2 separate regions of the Homo sapiens genome follow, and region 1 is linked to region 2. Evidence: promoter capture Hi-C in 16 types of primary human blood cells and fetal thymus (Javierre and others, 2016). All regions are on one chromosome and are shown on one strand. The core of a region is centred on a gene start or on the middle of the fragment in contact, and the rest is flanking DNA. Distances in the headings are between cores, read along the strand shown. Region 1 has its middle 46 kb from the start of LINC01804. Region 2 holds the start of CYRIA (CYFIP related Rac1 interactor A).

Evidence for each region. The method cuts DNA at HindIII sites, captures the fragments that hold promoters and counts their contacts. A CHiCAGO score of 5 or more calls a contact.
Region 1: a fragment that was not itself captured here is called in contact with the fragment with the promoter of CYRIA in region 2 in 1 of 17 cell types (endothelial precursors); the score reaches 6.2 in endothelial precursors.

Annotation. Positions count from the first base shown.
Region 1 is chr2:15,642,300-15,646,474 of GRCh38, forward strand. No RefSeq gene overlaps it. Among named protein-coding and RNA genes, the nearest start is that of LINC01804, 46 kb to the right of the region's middle. The HindIII fragment of the contact is 2,017 bases long and covers 1,178-3,194 here.
Region 2 is chr2:16,663,524-16,667,543 of GRCh38, forward strand. It overlaps CYRIA (CYFIP related Rac1 interactor A), which reads right to left and starts at 2,311. Exons shown (of 12, transcript NM_030797.4): 1 at 2,257-2,311. RefSeq lists silencers at 2,228-2,277, 2,348-2,517. The HindIII fragment of the contact is 7,241 bases long and covers 1-3,330 here.

The DNA.
Region 1 (4,175 bases), core at 936-3,435, 1.0 Mb before region 2:
TTGGCCCAGAAATGAACCGTGTTATAGCTCAAGCCCTGAGATTGAGTGTATTACCCTGGAGCCAGGGGTGATGGAATTTGTGACTGGAGAGAGAAACTCGATCACCTTGACCTGGCCGCTGGATGCAGACTGCAGGCTGGTCTGCCCTTGTTCCCGGTCCCGGGCCCCGGAGGCTGAACACCACTCACGGGAGGGCTGGCTCAGCTCAGAGGGACAGCTGATCCCACAGAGCTCAAGACACTGAATCGTGTCCGCAGACCGATAGAACAAGGGTTCAGCGATGGTTTCCCAGCTGAGCCAGACCACATGGAGCCTAGCTTCCTGATATTTCACAAGGGGTGAAATGTAAAGAATGTTGACTTTCATTAACCCAAGTGCATGTCAATATGTCCTGAAAGGCTGGGAGAAGGTGAGCCCAGGTAGATTCTAGAGCAGGATGCCACCACATGTTCAGGCTGGAGTGACATGGCCAGCTGTCCTGGGGGGCAGGGGAGGACAGAGACCCTTCACCAAATGCCATCTCTTCTTGGCCTCACAATGGCTGCGTGAGGACAGCAGGGTGCAGGCTGCTTGCCCATTTTCCAGAAGGACAAGATGAGGCCCTTAGAAGTTGCCCTACTCACAGCCGGTAGAAAAATGAATCCAGTTTCTTGGACTCCAACGTCTTTCTGCCCGTCCCCCGCCTCCCGACTCTCACCTCCTTGGAGGCTTACGGGGCTCTGTATAAGTTTCCCACAAAAAATCCGTGCTGCTGGGTGGAACGCGGGTGCTGTTCACATTCGTGTGTGGTTTTCCCTGGCTTATATGCAACAGCTTCTTTTTCTCTTTTCTTAATTTAAAGGTGACTCTTCTGGAAGTCCCCAAAGTGGAATTGACCCTAAATTGAAAAGAAGATCTTTCTAGGGCAAGAGCTTTGTTCTTGTGAATTTTCTGCCTCACCAACCATGGGGAATGTGAGCTGGGGGGGAAAAGTCTGTTAAAGCTGGTCATTCATTTCAGGGGGCCAAGGAGCGATTCTGAAGGAGCAAAGTCTCCTCATGCTCTTGGCCTTTTGATCTACTCAGGCTCTGTGGCAGGAAGACAGGGAGGAATCCCTGATCACCCACAGCCCTCCCCGCTGCTGTTAAGGCAGTATGATGATGGGGGGTGGAGCTGGAATTAAAAATAAAGAAATACAAGCTTGAATTCTACTTTAACATGAACAATCTCTAATTTTCATATCATAAAATGAATAAAATAATATTTTTTCCCATAGAAAGTGATGAACTGGTACATGTATTTTAACCAGTTGTAAAATGTCTCCTTCCCTGTATCTGTGTCTCCCGCTGTATGCCACCACAATATCTGGCACGCATGCACTGTTCCAAATGTTGGGTTTAAAAATTTCATTTTATGATTAAAATAGAGAAATATTATCAGTGAATATTAATATAGCATTTAGTGACACAGCAGTTAGGATTAGGTTCAATTACATACAGCAATGCACTCAAAATATGGTGGCTCAAATACAAAGGATTTATTTTCTTTTTGATATAAAAAAGTGTATTTGGGAGTTTTCAGATAAGGTATAAACAAAAAAAAAAAGAAGGTGTAGAGGCAGGCAGTCTGGAGCTAGGAGCTAGTAACGTCAGCCCTTCATCATCAGATATCCCAGCTCCTTCTGGCTTTCCGCTTTTCCATGCTTAGCTCATGACGTCCATCCTCAGAGATGCCGCATGATCTCACTTGCTGCTGGAGCACAAGCCATCATATCTGCATTAAGTACAGCAGAAAAGAGAAAAAAAGAGAAAGCCAAAAAGGAGCTCCCTTTCTGGTTGTCTCCCTTTTAAAGAGTCTTCCCAGAAGTCTGATGCAACAACTTCTATATACAGCTCATTAGCTAGAACTTGGGGCCACATCTCCTCAAGAGAGGCTAGAATATGTAGGGTGGTTTTTTTTTTTTTTTTTTTTTTAAGTCTGGGAAGATTGGAGTTCTGTGTCTAAGCCAGAATGGAAAGTTGGATGTTGAGGAGGCAACTAAATGTCTCTGCAGCATACACATTATGTAAATATGTGATGATGGGGTCATGTGAATCTCATGTCCAGGCATGTGCATTTTTCTCACCAAATTTATTCATTCATTAGTCAGTTACTCTTCATGGAATCTGCTTGCAAAGCACTGGACTGGGTGCCATGCACACATAAATGAAGAAGTGAATACCAGGTCCCTTTCCCCCTAGTGCATGGGAGTAGATGGCAGAGAGGGTACAAGTAAGAGTCACAAGTGCAGTGATGGAATGAGCAAAGAGGACCCAGAGCTCCTGGCCCAGCCTGGGGGTTCAGGGAAGGCTTCTAGGTAGAGGTGACAATGATAAGCCTTGAAGGATGAGCAGATGTTAGTATCTAGAGATAGGAATGCTGGCATAATTAAGCAGGTGTTTGTCAAGTAATCCGCTTTGCTAGCATGCACCATGACAAAAAAATTCTCAGAAAGGCCCTCTGAGCAATTCCTGCTTCACTAAGATGGTATGAAGAGAAAATGAGAGACTTTGATTTGCATCAATTTAGGGACCTTCTGATTACAAATGACAGAAACTTCAACTCTGTCTTAGGCAAAAAAGGAAATGTATTTGTTCACATAATGGAGAAGCCCAGACTCAGGCTTCCGATGGCCCTTAATCGAGGATGTCACATGGTGACAGTGGAGCTTGGTTTCTCTGCCTTCTGGATTCCCTAGTCCTCTGTTCTCTGTGTTGGCTTCATTCTAAGTCTCAGGCTCAGAGCTTTTGAGTCCAGCAAAAACTGAGAGCTGCTCTCGTAGAAGACCCAGGATATACTATGACAGTTTGAAGAATGGGATCATTTGTCCAGTCATGACCAATCACTCTGGCTGGGGGAATTTGGTGCGTGATTGGCCAGACCTAGGCCAGCTGCTCACTCCATCTGTAGAGCTGGGAGCCCCACTAGAAACTAAAAAGATGAGGCTGGAAGATGGTCCCTGAAAGGGATTTGGAGAGCTGTGGTCAGAGGAAAGGGGTGTGGAGACTGGGTGGCCAAACAACACATATCCACTGCTACTAGATATTGGTCGGTATGGAAGGCATTGGTGTGGACATTTACAGATGAAGATGATAAGGTTCAAAGAGGTTAGATAACCAGCATCCACAGCGCTGAGTGGCAAGTGGTGGCTGGATCCCTGGTTTCTTTGACTGCAAAGCTTATGCTCTTGCTACCCACTGCTACCTCCCAGCATCACACTGTTGGATCCCATGCAGTCCCATGGCTTGGTGGTAGGGGCTGACCTGCCTGGATTCAACTGAGTTATTTGCCAGGGCAGCCATGGTCAGCCAACTCCTGGTGTGATATAGACACTTGAGGGCCAGGTGCAGTGGTTCATGCCTATAATCCTAGCCCTTTGGGAGGCCAAGGAAGGTAGACAACCAGCCTGGGCAATGTGGCGAAAACCCATCTCTACAAAAAATTAGCTGGGGGTGGGAGCATGGTTGCCCACGCCTGTAGTCCCAGCAGGGCTGAGGTGGGAGAATCACCTGAGCCTGGGAAGTCAAGGCTGAAGTGAGCTGTGATCATGCCACTGCCCTTCAGCCTGGGTGACGGAGTGAGACCCTGTCTCAAAAAAGAAAAAAAAAGACACTTGATACATCATTTTTGAATGAATAAATGACTCTATCCTCAATCTGTGCTGGAAACTGTAGTGCAGAGTGTGGGGTTGAAAACCACAAGCTTGTCTGAATTCCATAACATCACAAGAGAAACAGGAAAAGTGAAATTTGCCCTTCTTTTCAAGAACAATGGCCATTGCTTGACACTCTTTGAACTGTCAGCAACGTCACTTCACCTCCTTTCTGAGGTGCATTTTGCATGTGCTGCTCAGCAGGGTCACAGTGGCTGCCGATGAGGCGTTGTCGACAAGGGGACTAGCACAACTGGAAACTCCTTTGCATATTTCCATATCCTGGGCTCTGGCCTTCACGTGGTTGTCACCAGACTGTATTTATAAGACAGCATGAGACAAGTGGCCCTCCCGTGCTCACACATGGCATTTGAGACTCTGATCTGGACCCTACTCAACTGCCATTCACTCAGTCATTCTGAATTTTTTTTTTTTTTTTTTTTTTGAGACAGAGTCTCACTCTGTCACCCAGGCTGGAGTGCAGTGGTGCCATCTCGGCTCACTG
Region 2 (4,020 bases), core at 1,061-3,560:
CAGTGGGTGCCCCTATGGCCCTGGGGAGCTATGAACTCCTTGCCCAGGGCTGGCTTGGGAGGGTCTACTTGACTCTGGGTCCCTGACTTATCTAGTTGCATCTAGGCCTGGGAGCAAATGCAAACTGAATTCTTCTTGGTGCTGAGTAAAAACAGGAAGTCACAAGTGGCTTTGCTCTGCTCTCAGCTGGGGTCCTCAACAGTTCAGGTCAAGGGTACACTTGGGACACTCCAGACAGCTTCCTGGCAGCTCCCTCCACAGTAGTCCAGCAGGGACAGGAAAAGTGGAGACACCTTCTAAAGAGCCTCCTATAGTGTGGGTTTAGGCAGCTGGACTAAGGAAGTCCCTGTGATCCCTCGGACAGGACCAGGGAGCCCAACAGAGATGCGTGTATGTCAGCTTCATCACTTTTCCATTCATTGAACCAAAACTGAGGGCTGACTGTGTGCTCAAATCAATGTGACCTTAGGGAAATAACTCACTTGCTCTGAGCTTAGTTTCCTCATCTGCAAAGTGGAAAGAGCCCCTGCCCCATGGGGCTATTGTGAAGATGAAAGGAAATAACACCAGTGAGGTCCTTTGCCACATTTGGTATCTATTTTTAGCACTGAGGCAGTATGCGCCCACTATGTGCCCAAGCCCGTGATGCTGCTGCTGCCCCCTTCCCAGAGCCAGAGCCCAGAGGCAGGAGGGAATGTGGGCAGGTCTGTTTCCACCTCGCTTTCCCACTCTCCCCTCACAGGAACCCAGGGCCAGCAGGAGGTGAAGTTCTGCCAGCCCCCAGCCTGGGCCCAGCGCCCATGTTTATGACTGTTTATTTCAGAGCAAGTAGAAAGGAGAAATTAGAGCCATGAAAGACAGGACAACGGACCAATAAAAACCAGCTCCCAGAAGAGTCAGAAGGAGGAAGACAGGCAAAACTGTCACCATAGCAACACAAGACAGTCAGAAGCACGCAGGAAAAACAGCCCCTGCTCTGCCTCCTGTCTCCACTGCAAAGCAAGCCCTCGAACCCCAACCAGAGATCAGTGAAAGCCGACAATGATCCACCCAAAGAACTCTGGTACCCAAGCCCAGACCTGGCTAGCAGCCACTCTCCTCCTGCTGCCCCAGCACAAGTCCCAGCCTTCCAGGGTCCCAGATCAGCATTCTGTGCCCTGGGGACTCGACACTGTGCAGATGGCCCAGGTCCCATCCAGAGGAGATAGTGACTGGTGACAGAGAGGAAAGTTTCTAACAGGGAGAAAAGGAGGGTCACAGAGCTTCAGGGGAGATCAGGGCCCTAAACTCCAGCCCCATGACCCTGTCTTGGGTTCCCTGGGGAGCAGGCGGGTAAACAAGGGTGTGGGAGAGGACATCAGGCCCTGGACACAGAAAGATTGCTCCATCAGTTCTGGACCTGGCACCCCCAAAACAGTGGCTGGGGGAATTCTGGGGATGCGTGGGGAAATAGCTTTGGAGGCCTTAAATGACAAAGATCTTGGCCCTGGTCTCTGGGGACACTGGCTAGCGAGTAGGAGCAGCTTGGAGGAGGACCCAGGGACGGGCTGGCCCATTTTGACAGAGAATGTCTCCTGGCAGACAAGACAGGTGTCTCCACCAAAAAGCATGGCTGGCCTGGGACCAGCATTTTGGGAAGTGGGTCAAATTGTTCCCAAAGCTCAGTATTGGAAAAGTGCCTTTTGCCAAACTGGGGTTCTGGGTTCTGGGGGAGGAGAGAGGGTGACGGCAAGGTGTGCTGGGTCCTAGGCACAGCAGCTTTCTGGCTGGCTAAGAACGTCTGTGGCAGGTGGCAACAGAAGGGTCCAGGTGTGCAGGGGCTGGGGAGGGGGCCATCCCTCCCTTTGGGGCTGTAGAGAGTACCCAGGACCCCGGGGCCTCGGGTGGTGGGAAGGGGAGTGTTAGGGGTCCCCTGCAAGAATGGAGCTTATGATACCTGGGGTGGGGGGTAAGTGAGTGAGGGACGAGGGAGGGTGGTCTGGGAAAGGAACACAATCAGGAGGCAGCCCTCTCAGAAAGAGGGCAACGGGGCACAAAGCCGGACCTCTGTCCGGCGATCGCTAGAGAAGGGCTCCCGGACGGTGTCCTCCGCTCTCCCTCCCTCCCAAAGGCTGCAGGGGCGTCCGGGAGGAGAAGGATGGCAGGGAGGCGCCCGCCCCGCCTCGCGGTGCCCCGCGGTGCCCCGTGCAGGCCGAGCCCCGCGCCCGCAGACCCCCGCCCGCGCCCCTGCCGCGCCCCCAGCCGCGCCGCGCTCACCGAGTCGCCGCCGCCCTGCTCTGCCGCCCGCTCCGCCGCCGCCGAGTACGCCTCTCCCGCGGCCGCCGCAGCCTGCGAGACGGCCTCGGAGCCCCGCCCCGCCCCTCCCCGTCCCTCCCCGCCCCGCCCCGCCCCCAGCCCGGCTCGCGGCAGCCGCCCCGCCCCGGCCCCGGGGGATCCCCACCCGCGCTGTCACCGGCCGCGTCCTCACCCTAGCCTGGACAACCCCATCTCTTTGCCCGGCTCTGCTCTCTGCTCCCAGGAGCTGGTGCGGACCCGCCCCAGCACGGTCGCCCCTGCCCCTTCTCAGCCTTGGCCACTTGGCCTTGCCTTCCCAGAGGAAGCCCGAACCAGACCTTTCTGTTTCTGCACACCAAATTCCTCCACACCCACGGTTGCCCTCCAAGAAAAAGAAATCCCCGCAATCTCTAGACGCATATTCACCTTCAAATTAATGCCCAGCCAAATCATCCCAATCCCTAGGCACACTCCAAATTACTTGAGATTCTGAACCCAGTCTCGCTCCCAGTCCCTTTCTGCCCACCCTATTAACAGATCTCCAGCCTTGGGGCCCGCAGTTATCCGATAGGACCACTGTAAAGTCTTCCCAAAGGCTCAATCCAAAACATGTAATTAACCTTAAAGAGTAAGTCTGCAAAAACACTTAAAAAATTCTATGATGCAAAAAGAAAGTAGTGGGTTACAGCGTCATTGACGTGATCATTGTTCTAAAACATCTGCCATGGAGGCTTTTTGCATTAGAGAGAGGGAGATTCAGGAAACCGGAGAGGACTCAGCAGTGCCAAACAGGTTGTGAGTCAGAGCTCCTGTTGAGGGGAGGGAGAGCTCCTGGGGACCCCGGCTTCGGGTGCTTCCTTTCCCAGTCCATCAGCCAGAACATCATGAAACATGTGTTAAATCCCCATAGTGTGCCAAGGTACGTGCCCGAAGCTGCATGGGTTGGGGCCCTGTGTGGGCTGGGATCAGAGGAGGCGGGAAGCATCAGGAGAAGGTGTTCAGGCCCCTCTCCTTTCTGAGATCCAGGGTGTTTCCCCTGGGAGGACTTGTTGCCCAAGCTTCCTTTGCACTCTGAAAGGCTCTCCTGAACTGCCCACAGAGGCTCTTGGTCTGTTTTTTGGCAAAAATTCACAGAGGGCAGGAAGGCACTGTCTAGTTAGAGTGAAATATTTTCCCACTTGGAAGGGGTCCTTAGGACCAGAAGAAACACTTTCCCGTTCTCTTTTTGAGTTTTCCCCATGCCCTAGACCAGCCTCTGTTGTCAATTCCTGCAAAGGTGTTTTTTTTGTTTTTGTTTTTTGAGACAGAGTCTCACTCTGTAGCTCAGGCTGGAGTGGAGTGGTGTGATCTCGGCTCACTGCAACCTCCATCCCCCGGGGTTCAAGCAATTCTCCTGCCTCAGCCTCCAGAGTAGCTGGGACTACAGGCGCCTGCCACCACATCCGGCTAATTTTTGTATTTTTAGTAGAGACGGGGTTTCACCATCTTGGTCAGGCTAGTCTTGAACTCTTGACCTCGTGATCCACCCACTTTGGCCTCCCAAAGTGCTGGGATTACAAGCGTGAACCACCGCAGCCGTCTGGCAAAGGTGTTTTATCTGTGAGTGGCTCTATGAGAAAAGCCTTCTTGCCATGAGGTAAACCATGTCTACTACACACACACACACACACACACACACACACACACACACATACACACACCCCTAAAATTTTCTGGCTTAATCTGTCCACCTTGAGTTTGGCCAGG